Regions from separate parts of the Homo sapiens genome. Here region 2 is linked to region 1. Evidence: promoter capture Hi-C in human tissues and cell types (Jung and others, 2019). All regions are on one chromosome and are shown on one strand. Each heading gives the region's core, a stretch centred on a gene start or on the middle of the fragment in contact. The rest is flanking DNA. Distances are from core to core; before and after follow the strand shown. Region 1 holds the start of DUOX2 (dual oxidase 2). Region 2 overlaps SPG11 (SPG11 vesicle trafficking associated, spatacsin).

Region 1 (7,936 bases), core at 5,137-7,636:
GGGTGCATTGAGCCAAGATCACGCCACTGCACTCCAGCCTGGGTGACAAAGCTAGACTCTGCCTCAAAAAAAAAAAAAAAAAAAAAAGAAAAAGAAAAAGAAAAAGAGAAGAGAAGAAAAAAAGAGAGACCCAGAGGGGTTGGGAAGGGTGTGGTGGGCTGACTGGGAATCAAGGGCTCATAGGGGCTGTCTAAGGCTAGACAGAGGGTCTGGGGCTCAGGCTGAGGAGCAGTCTGAGGTGGGGGCCCAGGCAAGCCTTACCCATTCCTGGTGTTCTCAAACCAGTAGCGGTCACCATCCCGCAGCCGTACAAACTGGTCGAGGACAATGGCACTGAACAGGGGTCCAGGGTCCCCATGGCTCTCCAGGAGCCCCCCAAGGAGCAGCTCTAGCTGGGATAGGTCCTGGTTGTACAGGGCAGCTGTGGCCTCCAGCACCTGGGGCACCACAGGAGATAAGGGGTGAGCGTATGTTTGCTGCGGAGGGCAGCCACTGTTGCCCCATCCCTCGGGCACAGAACCTCAGCCGCTGCCTGGCTGCTGCTCAGGCCTGATTTCCTCTTCTTAGGCAAGCCCCCTCAGGCAGGACAAGTCTGGTGGAAGGATCAGTGTGTCCCTACCCACGGTAACACCACGGTCAGGTGCCCTAGGACCATATCCTGTGACCATCACCAGCCTGCCTGACCTCAATGATTAGCAGCTTCAGGGGCACACAGCCCTTGGGGTGGGACCCTGCAGCAACAGGACAATGGCACCCAACCCAGAAGCCACCCTGCAGGAATGGTACAATGCAGTGGTTAGGAATATATTCTGGAATCAGATGGCTGAATTTAAGTCCCTCCTCTATGATTTACCAACTATGTCATCAGTAAAATGGGGAAAATGATTATACATACCTTACAATATTATTATGTAGATTAAATGAGTCAACATATGTAAAGGGTTTGGAACAGTATTGCCATAGGAAAGCTTTAGCTGCCATTATTATCATTACTATTCCTGACCTGGGGGTCCACATTAGGGTTGAGATCACTCCAGTTCCTTGGGATGTCCAGCCCAAAGGCCAGCAGGGCCTGGCTATAGCTGGGCAGCCCCATATCTCGGCCACGTTGGATGCTGCTGGCCACATAGTCTGTACGGGAGAATTTGCCAGGGCCAGGCCAGTAATCTGAAGAGGAGAGAAGACTAGACTATGGGCTTTGTCCTCTCCATCCTTTTTTGCCCTGCAGCCTTGTATCTGACTATTGGCACTACGGTTCTTCCCTCCTGGCTACCCCCAGTGATCCACATGAGATCTGTGCCCATGCTGACCTTGCCTTGCTGCAAGGCCAATGTCACCATGGGTGATCAGAGCCAGTTTTTCCAGTAAGACCCTTCCTCTAAGACTCAAGACTGTTCTAGTCACCAAGCAGTAAATTCCCTGTCCTATGCCTCCCTAGTTTCAAGACAGGGCTGAATGAAAACCTTTAGAGACCTAATTAAGCACCAAAGAGATTGTGGTACCACCCCTCCCCAATACTCAGACATAGTTAATTTAAAATAAAAGCAACACAAAAGTGTAAATTAAGCAAAAAAAAAAAAAAAGTTCAAAGTTCATTTTCTTCTTATGGCTCCTTGAAGTCTGTGTTTGTATCTGTGTTCCTGCATCGTGAGCGCCCTAGGTCTGCTATTGATGAACCCAGAGGGATCCTCAGGCTTCCTGGTCCCTTACCATCCACCCCTTCTGGCTCTGAGCTCACCCCTCAGATCTTCAACCACTATGTTGTCCTCCAACTCCGAAATCTGGGAGGCCATTCCCAGCAGCAGCTCATTCACCTCCTGGGTACTGTTCAGATTGGGGTTCTGGAAGTAAACAATGCACTCAAGATAGGCCTCTACCCAAAACTCGGTCTCTCTCAGCCTGGACCACTTTAGTACCCCAGGACAAAGGGCCCTTGGCCAGTCCCAGACTCTCTTGAACTGTTGTCCCCGGATAATTTCCTCTACCCTTCATCTCCCATGAACCTGGGGCAGCAACACTCAAGAACTGGGATTGTTGCTTTTCCCAGCCTGTGTGAAGAGACTGACCTTGACCCATCTTCCCCTGACCCTGACCCCAGTCTGACCTCCCGAATCCAGTAGTTGTTGCAGACCCTGAGAGCTTGGGAGCTTTGAAAACCCTTGTTCAGGACCTTCCGGAAATGACAGCTGGCATTTCTGAAATTGAGAACAAAGGATGTGGTGAGGGAATTTGGAGAAGAATCAAAGATGGGGTTGAGTGGGCTGAGGGACTCAGTGGGGGTTCACTAGGATTGAGCAGTGGCCCAGGAACTTCCTTGAACACGGCAGAGATTTGGTGATGTGCGTTTACTGAAGATAGAGTGCGCTCCTAGTCCAGGTAGGGTGGGGAGAGGAGGGAAGGGAATGACCCAGCTGCTAGACAAATCCTACACCCAGCCACCAAATTTCAGCCCTTAGGAGAGCTGGAGAGATTTCCCTACTAAGCCTACACATCTTACCCCAGGGTTCTGTTTCAGGGCCCCAAATTTTTGCTTCCCCTTCTCTAGTGAAACTGCGAAGGAGTGTGAAAGGCCCCAGCCCCCAAGGCAGCTCATTCTGCACCTTTCTTAGTGTGGTGCCCCTCTCTGCCAACCCCTCCCTCACCTCATGTAGACACCAGGGGGCACCATGGTAGAGAAGAACTGCTCAGAGGCCACCACAAATTCCGGGGAGATGCTGGGGTCTAGGAAAGGACGGTATCCTGCAGGAAGGAGACGGTGATGATGGGGAGACAGGCTTCTTGCCTCCACATCCTCCCATCACAGGCACCTGTCTCCTTCCCCTCAGGATTCTCCGCACAGGTGTCCTCCTTCCCCGCTCCCTCACCTGTATACTCCGGGAGTGTTTTCTGCAGGAAGCTGGGCAGCCACTCATACACAGCGATGTTCTGAGGGGCAGAGAGGGGCGAGGGGAGGCACAAGTTGGATGGTGTGGGGCCTGGAAGGGTCTGAGCCCAAGGACGGCTTCCGTGTGGAGATGAGACCAGGAAGGGTCAATCATGGGAGAAGCAACTCAGACAGGAGCAGTGTGAGGCCTGTCCCCACAAGGAACCAGGGGATTTGAGGGAGTGGGGGTTGGGGAGGTGATAAATAATCATCACCAGCCAGATTTCTCCTATAAACAGCGCGTGCCTCCCTATCATTTACAGGGGCTTCCCTAGACCTCGGCTGTCTGGGGAGGGGTTTCTGGGTGGCGGTTGTCCACAGATGGGGAGCTCCATGGGGCAGCGGAGTCTCCCGTGGGCTTGCACGCGGAAGGGAGGACGTCGCGGGGCGCGGACGGCTGACCTGGTAGGTGGCGATGACCCTCTTGCGTGCGTGCTGGAACAGCTCCTCGTCCTCCCAGTCTGGGTGCTGGCGGGCCAGCCTCTGCGCCCACAGGTTGTGGTAGCGGAACCAGAGCAGGCCCAGCGCCTGCAGGAAGGGTTCCCGGTTCCCTCTCTCTGCCCCGAAGGCTGCATCCGACGTGGGGGCGCAGGGGAGGAGACGAGCGGTAGCGTGATCGGGGGAGCCCACACTCGCAGACCCCCAGCCGGCCCCGTCCCGCCCCTGTGGCCTCACCGTACAGCCCCCGGGGCCCGTTCTGCCCGGTGGCGGGGTCGGGCGCCGCCCACATGAGCAGGGGGTTCTGCGAGTCTCGGGGGAAAGCGGGGTCGGGCCCCGACGCCAGCTGTCCCCCCGAGAAGCTCCGCAGCGCGTCGCTCCAGGAGTGCGAGGAGCCATAGATGGCGCTGCCGTCCAGCCAGCCCGTCACCTGGTTGGCCTGCGGGGCACGCGGCGGGTGAGCCCGGGTCGAGAGGCGGCGGCGGGCCAGGGAAGGCCGGGGCCCGGCGGGTGTCCGCGGCTGGGGAGTGGGCGCCTCTCCCCTCCAGGCCCTGCCAGGCCCGAAGCCCAGGCCCCACCTGGCTGGGGTGCGGTCCCTTCCCGCCGCCTTCCCCGCCTCACCAGGTCCCGGGGGTTGCTGGGACTCCGTCCGGTCTCGGGGTCCCAGCGGCTCCTCTGGAAGGGCAGCACCACGTCCCCGCGCTGGTCGGGGTCGAACACGGGGTCTCCAGGTGGGATGCGGATGTTGAGGAACTCGGCGGGGCAACCGGGCGTTTCCACGCTCACCACGTCGGAAAGAACATGGTAGCCTGCGGGCATGGGGCGCCAATACGTGACAAACCGTCCGTATTGCGCCCTCCCCACGGCCAGGGCGGCCTCCAAGTGTCCTCAGGAGCCAAAAGACAGAGGTCCCAGTGCCAGCTCCGCCACCAGCTCTGCACGTTAGCCCCAGGTAGCCTCAATTTTCTAATCTGCAAAGTAAGACTATAGTGAGTTCCCTTCCTACTCAATTCATAAAGCTGTTGTGAGAATCAAAATGATATAATTTATGTAGGGGTACCCCAAGTCAGTCCTCCTCCCTCTGGGCTAGGGGGAGGTAAAATGGTTACAAACACACGGTGAGGAGAGCGGTGGCTGGGGAGCTCAGTTCCCAAGAGCTATAATGGGGGTCCAGTGACACCCCTAGGTTGGAATAAGGCGTAAGAGAAAGGTTAGATACAGAGCAAATATCTCTGTATCAACATCCCAAAATCTCTCCGAGATGAAGGCAGTCTCGAAGTGCTGCGTAGAGAGGAAGTGGTTGGGAGTCGGATGGGTCTCCTGTGGACTCGCAGACGGGATCTGGCCCCTCCCCCAGGCTGAGCAGAGCGCCAGATCAACCCCACTGGTCTCCCCCTTTGCCCTCACCAAAGAAGACCCCCAGTACGGTGCGGTTGTGGAGCGACGGCAGGCCGGCTATGCCCCGCGTGGCTGCGTTGCTGAGCCGGCGCGGGTTGGGCAGCTGCGGCTCCTCCAGAGCCTGATACACACCGTCGGCGTAATTGGCTGGTACGCGGCGCTGCAACCGGCAGCCTGCGGAGGCAGGGAGCGGGGCTCTGTCTAAGCACTCCATCCCCTAGGATCCCCCAAACCTCTCCCTAAGCCTCCCTCAACCCCCATCCCACTTCACTGACAGAACCTTCCCTCAAGGGTCTCTTGGCCCCGGGAGCGCATAAGATTGCGCTGTGTAGGCAGCGGAGCTGCTGGGCGCGTGTTCCCCGCAGATTCCCCGCTCAGGGCCTTTCGCGCCCCGGCCCTTCGCGAGCCACGGCCCCAGCACGCCCGGGCCCCCAGAACGCACCAACAGCACCACGCTCGTGGTGCCTCAGGTTGTTAAACCAGCCGTCATAGCGCTGCACTTCCCAGGGCAGTGAGAGTGCGTCCTGACTGCCTGTGGGCACAGAGAAGGGCCTCCTCAGCACTACGCTCCCAGCTACCCCTCCCGAGCAACGAAGGCCTTGGCCAGTCCTTCCCCAGCTCGCGGAGCGCCCCTAACCGGACCCAAGTGTCGGGCCGCACTGGGAAGTTTCCCATCCCGCTGAGCTGCACGGCGAAATGACCTTCCAGTCTCAGGGAGCCGCTTGCCGCACCTCTCCCCGCCCCACCTCCCAGGGATCCTGGGGAACACCCCGCCGCTAGAGGAGCCTGATACTTGCCCGATGGACCCAGGGATCCAGTCAGAAGAGCTCCCAGGAGCATCAGTGCCTCTGGTCTTGCACGGAGCATGCCAACCCTGCAGCCTGCGGGGTGAGGGTGGGGGTGGTAGGTGGTATGCGAAAGCCACTGTTAGGGCGTCCTCTATGCCTCCCCTCTTGTTCCTACAGCTAGTACTGGAGGAGGAGCACCAGCTGTTTCCACTTCTGGAAGGTAGCTGTTAGAAGCATCACCGAGGACCTTCATCCAAACGCCACTCTTTCCAGGACAATTGGCAGCTCTGGAGGCATTGACACTGTTCCCCATCCGCCACCCCATCAGAGAGTTAACCCCCGACCATAGGAACCCACTGGGCAGGAGTCTTCTGGGGCATGTCAGTCCAGGGCAGGACTGGTCAAGCCTCCCAGGGTGTGCCCAATGTCTCCAATGTTTCACCTCCACCCGCCCCCGATCCGTCAGGCTCCGCTTCTCCTCCAGGAGGCAGGGAAGGGAAAAAGGTTACTGACCTGGGAGTGAGGGACTGCAGCACCCTTCCACAATGAATCCCCCCTTCCCCAATAAACTCCCCTTCTGCAATGAACGCCTGTGCATGATGGGCGAGGGCTAGGGTCAGATCCCAAACTCTGGTCTAACCTGTGGTTTAGGGTGGTGTTGGGTTCAGATGTCTTCTTTCCTCTTAAAATCTTTGCTTCTGTGCTCTACTTCTTGCCTTCACCCTCACTCTTCCAGCTCCGCCGATCCTCAGCCTCCCCGGCTGCACTCTCACCTTTCTCTCTGGGTCCTTGGTCTCGCCACTGTGCAGGTGTCGGCTCAGGACAGACCTGCGCCAGTGTGAGCATCTGGACCTAGGGCTCACCCTCCTGCCGTGGAGGTGGGGCCCTTATTTGCACAACCTCTTCCAGCTCAGACCAGCCCCTGGGCTGGGACACCCGTGTGGCACGTCGCCCACGCTGCTATAAAAGGGGTCCCGCGCGACTTCCAAACTCAGCGCCAACCCGCAGAACCAGGAAAGTAACGGCTACAGACAGTGAGAAATAGTTTCGCTCGCCGGCTAGAAAAACTCTGTCGGTACCAACCCCAGAGCGTTGAGAGCAGCCCACCTCCACGCTTCCTTAACGGAGAGGTGCAGGACTCAGACTTCACCAGCCCACTCGGTCCCAGCCTTGTACGCAAAGAGACGCCAAGGACGCGCTCTCCCGCGTCCAGGCAGCCCCAGCTTGCTGGCTTGCCTGCCCGCCTGCGTGCAGCACTCGGCCGGCGTGCAGCATGACCCTGTGGAACGGCGTACTGCCTTTTTACCCCCAGCCCCGGCATGCCGCAGGCTTCAGCGTTCCACTGCTCATCGTTATTCTAGTGTTTTTGGCTCTAGCAGCAAGCTTCCTGCTCATCTTGCCGGGGATCCGTGGCCACTCGGTAAGGGTGTCCTCATAGTGCAGGTAGAGTGGGGGAAGGCTCATGGGCAGATTGTCTCCTGAGGGACCCAGGACAGGTAAGACTGTACAAGAGCCTCCATGAATAGTCGAATTGAGGCTCAGGTGGAGTGAAGTCAGGAGTCTGGTGCAGCAAGCACCCCTTTCCAAGGATAGGGAGAGCTCCCCATCCAGGATATCCTGGAGAAGGACCCCAGCTGGGTCCTTGGGAAGGCTGCTGCAGAGAATGGGCACCCAGTCCAGTAATCCTGAGGAACAGTCTAGGCTTCTTGTGCTGGAGGGCCTCCCACCTCTCCCAGGACTAAAGCTGCACTCTCATCCCATCCGGTGGGTGATGACCTTCAGGCCAAAAGGACAGATGCCAGCAGCTCAGACTGCAGTGTTCCCCTTTGCACTGGGTTGAGACACATGTGTATGGGTGCCTCATCCTCAGGACTGAGACTCCCACATTGGATTAGAAGTTGGAGCCAACTGGGTGCATTGTCTTAGACTTTCCCCCTCTCCCAGAACCTAGGTTGTGCATTTTTCAGTTCTGGGAGGACCCAGCTTTTCTGCATCTTAATCTGTGTTGCTTTCCCTGGAACTGGTGCACCTAGGAGTATCTGCATTCCCACCTCCTCCCCTCGGAGATCAGGCTGGGGCCTCCCTCTTCTGAGGGAGGTGACCCCTGCGTGCCTAGCACTTCTGGACTCACTGAGCCTCACCAAGCAGTGACTGGACCAGGAGGCAGAACCAGGACCAGGCGCCAGACAGCTAGGGGAGTGAAGGTGGTGGAAGAGTGCCAGGAAGTGGGGGTGGAGGGGAGGTGCTGTTAGGGTAGATGGGAAATGGGGCTAGGGAGGTGAAAGTGCGTGGTCACAAAATATCAGAAATGCCAGTAGCCCAGAGGGACTTGCAGGAAAAGCGTGCCTAACATTAGTCTCAAAAGTCTGGATATAACTAAAGATCCAGG
Region 2 (7,936 bases), core at 1,854-4,353, 510 kb before region 1:
GCCTCCTGGGTTCAAGCAGTTCTCCTGTCTCAGCCTCCGAGTAGCTGGGATTACAGGCATGTGCCACCACACCCGGCTAATTTTGTATTTTTACTAAAGACGGGGTTTCTCCATGTTGGTCAGGCTGGTCTTGAACTCCCAACCTCAGGTGATCCGTCCGCCTCACATTCCTGAAGTGCTGGGATTACAGGTGTGAGCCACTGTGCCTGGCCAAAAACAGTAGACTTTTTCACCCATAAGGCAGAATAGCTAGCTTAGCATACTGGCACAATTCATTCCTTCCCCAAGTCATCAATCAAGTACCTATTTATACTGGCTGTGTAGCATCCTTAGGAGAACTGAGGAAGTTGTCAGTCAAGAAACTTTCTGAGCACTTATTTCTCTTGCTCTATTCACTTTAGAGTACTCAGAGGCCTGGTGGGTGCCTGGGCCTCCTCACCAGGGGTAGGGTACATGTTCCTGCTGCAAGCAGGATTCTGCCAAGAACAGAATCAGTGATAGGATGTACAGAAAAAGGGTGCGTTCTCAGGGTCTGGAGTGGTTAGGTCAGCCCCAGTGGGGCAGCATAAAGAAGGCATGAAGTGTAAGGAGGTGCTTTTACATACGGTCACTTCAGCTTCCATTATCAACTGACATAATAAAATGAAAAAAGTAAGGACATGACTTAAAGTCAAATTTTGGAAGACCCATCCTACATCATCCTCTTCTTCATTTTTTTCCAATCCTCCAAGACATCTGAACCCACATCTTCTGGCATTTCAACATGTACCATTTAAAAGACTTCTCTGACTAGCAGGGCAGTGGAGGAGACAAAGCTGCTCTCCATCTCTTGGTAAGTCCATCTCTAAAGAGAGAATTGCTATCTTCACCCTCTTTTCACTGATGGCAAGATGCAATTAAAATCATTATTCATTTACTGAGTATCTGCTACATGCTAGATAAAGAAGAAGATAAGGTCTAGGGGGATTTAGTGAAAACACCAGAGTTGTTCAAAGAAAAACTAGGCAAACACAGGTTGGCACAATAAGCTTGTTAGAAAAGAGGCTGAGACTGCAACTCACAAACCTCTTTATTTCCTGTTGCTGAATGCTGTTCCATGTACCTTCTTCTAAGAGAACAAGCAATTCTTCTGTGGTTGTCTTTTCACCATCAGCTAGTTTAGATAGTTTTTCGGCTGTAAGAAATATAAACAACAAAATATGGTGAAGAGAAAAAGTCAAAACCTGAGCATTTCTGTTTGAATAGTGTGGCTCAGGGCCATTTCAGAACCCAATTAAAGTGCCCAAGAAAGTGAGACAAAGAACACACACTCTGCAGGAAAAGGATAAAACCAAGAAGATAACCATTTTCTCCCCAAACACTCACAATTCAATGCCTTAGACCTCGTCACACCTTCTCTAAACAAAGCAGGCCAGATAAAAGGTGCTGTACCTACAGACTCTCTGATAAAGCTGTACTGAGCATCTTCATTTCTGCACTTGTAGCTCAAAATTATATTGGCCACTTTCATATCAACTCTGAGCTTGAGGCTGTCAAGGCCAAGCAATTCTAAGAAACAAACACATGCAGCTCCTATTGAAGGTATGTGGAAGGAGGAGAGCCCTATAACATAGGCTTCATTGCCTACTTGCTGGATCCTGAAAAAGAAAGGAATCAAAATCACATCAGCACATGAAAATTATGTCTCACCAGGAAAAGCAAATGGAATTAAATCAGTGACAGAGGGAGTGCCAGCCATGTGATTTGTGGCCTCCTCTCCCTTACCTTTTGCCCCTTGCACATACCCGTTTAGGTTCCTGGTAGCTTTTCAGTTGTCTTTTGGCCCAAGAGCCCCCCGCTTCCCTTAAGCTGACTTTCTAAAACGCTTAGTCATAGTCTAAACTATTCTTGCTTCCAACTTCATCAAGACATGAAGTACAACTTCTGAAAGACTGCCAACTTGTGATCTTATCAATTATGAGTACGTATACAAACTACGAAGAATATCAATGCCACTTAAATGTAAGTTTGACATCATGAAGCACATTTAAAAAAACTCATATAGGCCTTTTATAGGAATAGAAAATTTGGGAAAGACACAAGAAATTACTATTTTTTATTTTTATTATTATTTTTTTGAGATGGAGTCTCGTTTTGTAGCCCAGACTGGAGTGCAGTGGTGTGATTCTTGGCTCACTTCAACCTCTGCCTCCCGGGTTCAAGCGATTCTCCTGCCTCAGCCTCCTGAGTAGCTGGGACTACAGGCACCCACCACCATGCCTGGCTAATTTTTGTATTTTTAGTAGAGACAGGGTTTCACCATATTGGCCAGGCTGGTCTCAAACTCCTGAGGTTGTGATCCGCCCACCTTGGCCTCCCAAAATGCTGGGATTACAGGTGTGAGCCATCGTGCTCAGCCCACACAAGACATTATTAACCATGTTTTTACCATGTGGAATGGGAAGCTGAGGGCTATCTTTCATTTTCACCTTTCTGAACTACTTGAATACTTTACCATAAAAAAGGTATTACTTTGTTAATTATAAAACAAACCAATAAAGTAAATCTATATTTAGCTGTTCATTATAGTAAATGCTCCTCTCAATTCTGTGCCTTATAAAAATGAATAATTGAATTATTAAAGACATTAAATATAGAATTCACATCTCATCATATAATTCCCTTTTTTTAAAGTTCTGGGATACATGTGCAGAACATGCAGGTTACATAGGTATACATGTGCCATGGCAGTTTGTGGCACCTATCAACCCGTCATCTAGGTTTTAAGCCCCGCATGCATTAGGTATTTGTCCTAACGTTCTCCCTCCCTTAGAATTCCCTCTTTAACTGCTAATATTTGACAAACTCCTGTATGATTTTAAATTTTATTATTTTTCAAAACATATTTATGTTTTTTCCAATTAACAAAAATCACACACACTAAATGCCAAAAACTTAGGACACACAGGGAAGCACAAATGAAAACAACAATAATCACCATCCAAATGTAATCACTGTTAACTGTGGTATGTTTCCAGTATGTTTTTCAATGTACATGTAAAACATTATACAGATATGCCCTTTTTTAGAATACAAATTATATTTTATTTTACTTTTTTTGTTTTAGTGGCAGAGCCTCACTGTCACCCAGGCTAGAGTGCAGTGGCATGACCATAGCTCACTGCTTCCTTGAACTCCTGGGCTCAAGTGATCCTCCTGCTTCCCAAAGTGCTGGGATTACAGGTGTGAACCACTGTACCCAGACAAAATTATATTTTAAATACTCACAGCTGCTTGGGAGTCTTGCTCTTGATTAATTCCTGGACCAGAAAAGTACCAAATGCAAATGATGGCCGCCCATTATGTAAATAATAAGCAAAATTCAGACGTTCCACTATAGCATATTTATTAACCAGGTCAGGGCTAGAGAAATGTGGGAGATGACTCCATGCATCTAGGGGGAAAGTAAAACAATATTAATTATCTGTATATCACCATAATTAATTTCAGATTTGCACATGGAACTCTCTAATGATAAAACTGGTTGCTGTAATTATTTTGCATCACTACGTATCACTTTGAATCTACCAAAATCTGATTTATTTTACTTCAGTGTATAGAGGTAGCCTTCATTTTATACAAAGATGTGTACCTGAGAAGTTGCATAAAAACTCTGGTAAGAAATGATGCTTCAGCCGGGTACGGTGGCTCACGCCTGTAATCCCAGCACTTTGGGAGACTAAGGCAGGCGGATGACCTGAGGTCAAGAGTTGAGACCAGCCTGACCAAGTTGGAGAAACCCCGTCTCTACTAAAAATACAAAATTAGCCAGATGTGGCGGTGCATGCCTGTAATCCCAGCTACTTGGGAGACTGAGGCAGGAGAATCACTTGAACCTGGGAGGCAGAGGTTGTGGTGAGCCAAGATCGCGCCATTGCACTCCAGCCTGGGCAACAAGAGTGAAACTTCATTTCAAAAAAACAAAAAAAAGTGTGAGATTCCTGGTCTTGACACCACTAGCTGCGTGACCTTGAGCAACTTATTTAAGAATTGTATATATTTAAAGTATACAACATAATTGATTTTTTATTTTTTTTTTTAAGACAGGGTCTGGCTCTGTCGCCCAGACTGGAGTGCAGTGGCATAATCTTGGCTCACTGCAATCTCCACTTCCTGGGCTCAGGTGATCCTCCCACTTCAGCCTCCCAAGTAGCTGGGACCACAGGTGCATGCCACCACACCCAGCTTTCTTTAGTATTTTTGGTAGAGATGAGATTTCACCATGTTGCCCAGGCTGGTCTCAAAATCCTGAGCTCAAGCAATCCACCTGCCTTGGCCTCCCAGAGTGCTAGGATTACATGCGTGCGCCCAGCCTCTTCTTTTTTTTTTTTTTTTTTTAAATAGAATCTTGCTCGGCTGTCTAGGCTGGAGTGCCATGGCACAATCTCAGCTCACTGCAACTTCCGCCTCCTGGGTTCAAGTGATTCTCCTGCCTTAGCCTCCTAAGTAGCTAGGACTTAGAGGCACGTGCCACCACACCTAGCTAATTTTTGTACTTACAGTAGAGACGGGGTTTCGCCATGTTGGCCAGGCTGGTCTCGAACTCCTGGCCTCGGGTGATCTGCCCACCTTGACCTCCCAAAGTGCTGCGATTACAGGCATGAGCGTGAGCCACTGTGTCCAGCCAGCCACCGCGCCCAGCCCACCCAGCCTCTTTCACCAATGTTTGATAGTTTAATATGTACAGATCTTTGACCTCTTTGATTAAATTTATTCCGAAGTATTTTGTGTTCTATTAAAAAATAGAAATGGGATAGTTTTGTTCATTATCTTTTTCAGACAGTTTGCTGTTGGTATATAGAAACACTGATTTTTGTATGTTGATTTAATATCCTGCAACTTTCTTAGATTTGTTTATTAGTTCTAACAGTTTTACTGGTAGAGTCTTTAGGATTTTCTATATACAAAATCATGCCATCTGCAAACAATGACAACTTCACTTCTTTCTTTCTGATTTGGATGCCTTTCTTTTTTTTTGCTTAAATGCTCTGGCTAGGACTTCAACTACTATGTTGAACAGAAGTGGCAAGGGTGGGCATCCTTGTCTTATTTCTGATCTTAGAGGAAAAGCTTTCAACTTTTCACTGCTGAGTATATTAGCTGTGAGACTGTCATACATGGCCTTTATAATGTTGAGATGCATTCCTTCTATGCCTAATTTGTTGAGAGTTTTTATTATGAAAGGATGTTGAATTTTCCTAAATGCTTTTTCTGCATCTATTGATATGATCATATGGTTTTTGTCTTTTTTTTTTTTTGAGATGGAGTCTTGCTCTGTTGCCCAGGCTGGAGTGCAATAGCGTGATCTTGGCTCACTGCAAGTTCCGCCTCCCGTATTCACGCCATTCTCCTGCCTCAGCCTCCCAAGTAGGTGGGACTACAGGCGCCTGCCACAATACCTGGCTAATTTTTTTTTGTATTTTTTAGTAGAGACAGGGTTTCACCGTGTTAGCCAGGATGGTCTCTATCTCCTGACCTCGTGATCTACCCACCTCGGCCTCCCAAAGTGCTGGGATTATAGGCATGAGTCACCATGCCTGGCCTGGTTTTTGTCTTTCATTCTGTTAATGTGGTGTATCATTTATTAATTTGTGTATGTTGAACCATCCTGGTTTTAATTCTGTATTTGATGATCCTTTAAGTTCAGAAAGGCAATAGCCAATAACCCTATAGTTGTAAAGTCTTTAAATAACTGCAAAAGGAGCTTTTAAATTCATTCACAAAAGGTCATTATGCAATAAAATCCCTTTTAACATATTTATATGAGTCCTCTGTTCACCAAAGCCAACTCACTGTACCTTTCTCCAACAGGCAATTTTTTTTTTTTTTTTTTTTGGACACAGGGTCTTGCTGTTGCCCAGGCTGGAGTGCAGTGGCATGACCATAGCTCACTGCAGCCTTGACTTCCTTAACTCAAGCAATCCTCTTGCCTCAGCCTCCTGTAGCACTGTAGGCACACACAACTATGCCTGGCTAATTTTAACATTTTTCTTTCACCTTCTTGACCCTTATCTTCTATACCCGGCTAATTTTTTGTAGAGACAGTGTCTTGCTATGTTGTCCAAGCTGGTCTTGAATTCCTCGCCTCAAGCAATCCTTCCACCTCAGCTTCCTGAGTGTTAGGATTACAGGCATGAGCCACTGCACCTGGCCTCCAACAGGTAATTTTAGAACATTTTTCCCTCTACACTAATTACCCTCCTATAACCTCCATTTGTTATCACTTACTTTCTGATGTTGTATTCATAGAGCATGAATATCTTAGAAAGATGGCACCATCCTTCTATTAATAAGACCAGCAGAATAGCTCAGTTTAAAGTTCCTCTAAACCCAAGAAAATATCAAACAAAAATGTCTTTTTTTAGATAAATTTGAAGTCAGAAGATATTTTGATATGAGTCTAGTCATCTCTTGGTATCCATGGGGGATTGGTTCCTGAAACCCTTGGATACCAAAATCCACAGAAGGATGCTCAAGTCCCTGTAAAATAGCATAGTATTTATATATAGCCTATGCACATTTCCCCATACACTTTAGATTACTCTAGATCACTTATAATACCCAATAAATGTAAATGCCATGTAGATAGTTGTTATACTGTATTTTTAAATTGGTATTATTTTTAATTGTTCTATTGTTTTTCTTTTTTTTAAATTGTTTGTTTGTTCTTTTGAATATTTCCCATCTGAGGTTGGTTGAATCCTTGGATGTGGATCCCAAGGATATGGAGGGCTGACTCCAGTTAGAAAGAAATAGTCACTCCTGTCACGTACTATTCAATTGTCTCTTAACCACTTACTACCTATTTTTTAAAAAAGACAACACTGTGATCTGGTTCCAGAAACTAGTTCTGGAAAACAGTGTACCTGCTCTTGTTTTCAAAGTTCAAAGCTTATTTCTGAAATAAAGTTGTGTTTTCTCATGGAATTCCAAGGACTTTTCACATTGTGACCTGATTCCTAAAAAAAAAAAAAAGGCTTGAAGACCCTGGAGGTATCTGTCATCTTACAAAGGTCTTACCTGAAAGTACATTCCCTCTTTGAGATTAAAAAAACTGTCACATGCCCTATTTGTATTCTTGTGAGAACAGAGCGACTTTGACAACTTGTAATTACATATAAAGCCATTCATTAGATATTTGCTGAGCGTTTGTAAGGCACACAGTACTGAAATGAGCACATTTGAGTTTTTTATTCAAATAAGACCATAATTTTTTAGCACGTTGGGGCTTAGTGTGGAGACTGCGTATAAGAGAAAATTCATTCTAGAGGGAAATTTTACTCTGGCCTGGTGCAGAAGCCAAGTCACCACACAGTGTTCTTACATCCCTGTTCAGTGGTAAAACCATAAGAAAAAAGAAGTCAACATTCAAATTAAATACAGGTTTCCAATTTTATAAATATGTATTGGTTGGGTGCGGTGGCTCACGCCTGTAATCCCAGCACTTTGGGAGGCCGAGGTGGGTGGATCACGAGGTCAGGAGATCGAGACCATCCTGGCTAACACGGTGAAACCCCACCTCTACTAAAAATACAAAAAATTAGCCAGGCGTGGTGGTGGGTACCTGTAATCCTAGTTACTCGGGAGGCTGAGGCAGGAGAATGGCATGAACCCGGGAGGCACAACTTGCAGCGAGCCGAGATCGAGATCGTGCCACTGCACTCCAGCCTGGGCGGAACAAGACTCCATCTCCAAAAAAAAAAAAAAAAAAAAAAAAAAAAAGTATTACATTTTCATAACAGTTTCATTTACTTTGTGCTTTATTTCCTCAAGTATGTTTTAAACTTCTAAAAACAGCAGGGAACATGCTTTCAACTTCTCTGTGCCTCTACTCTACCTGGCAGAGTGCTCAATTTCCAAGAGTTAGAATGCCAGGTCAAGATGCCACCTAAGTGAT

The links. Contacts are between HindIII fragments. The study calls those that stand out against the background at their distance.
Region 2: a fragment that was not itself captured here is called in contact with the fragment with the promoter of DUOX2 in region 1 in 1 of the 25 tissues and cell types used here (lymphoblastoid cells).

Annotation. Positions count from the first base shown.
Region 1 is chr15:45,107,786-45,115,721 of GRCh38, forward strand. It overlaps DUOX2 (dual oxidase 2), which reads right to left and starts at 6,387. Exons shown (of 34, transcript NM_001363711.2): 1 at 6,188-6,387; 2 at 5,557-5,640; 3 at 5,202-5,291; 4 at 4,769-4,933; 5 at 3,983-4,170; 6 at 3,599-3,800; 7 at 3,326-3,492; 8 at 2,865-2,925; 9 at 2,643-2,739; 10 at 2,105-2,195; 11 at 1,739-1,841; 12 at 1,004-1,167; 13 at 262-437. The coding sequence starts at 5,626. DUOXA2 (dual oxidase maturation factor 2) reads left to right here and starts at 6,541. Exons shown (of 6, transcript NM_207581.4): 1 at 6,541-6,967. The coding sequence starts at 6,821. RefSeq lists enhancers at 2,955-3,781, 4,624-5,159. The HindIII fragment of the contact is 12,302 bases long and covers 1-7,936 here.
Region 2 is chr15:44,597,200-44,605,135 of GRCh38, forward strand. SPG11 (SPG11 vesicle trafficking associated, spatacsin) reads right to left here. Exons shown (of 40, transcript NM_025137.4): 21 at 3,268-3,433; 22 at 1,432-1,637; 23 at 1,066-1,174. Among named protein-coding and RNA genes, the nearest start is that of SPG11, 62 kb to the right of the region's middle. The HindIII fragment of the contact is 5,831 bases long and covers 189-6,019 here.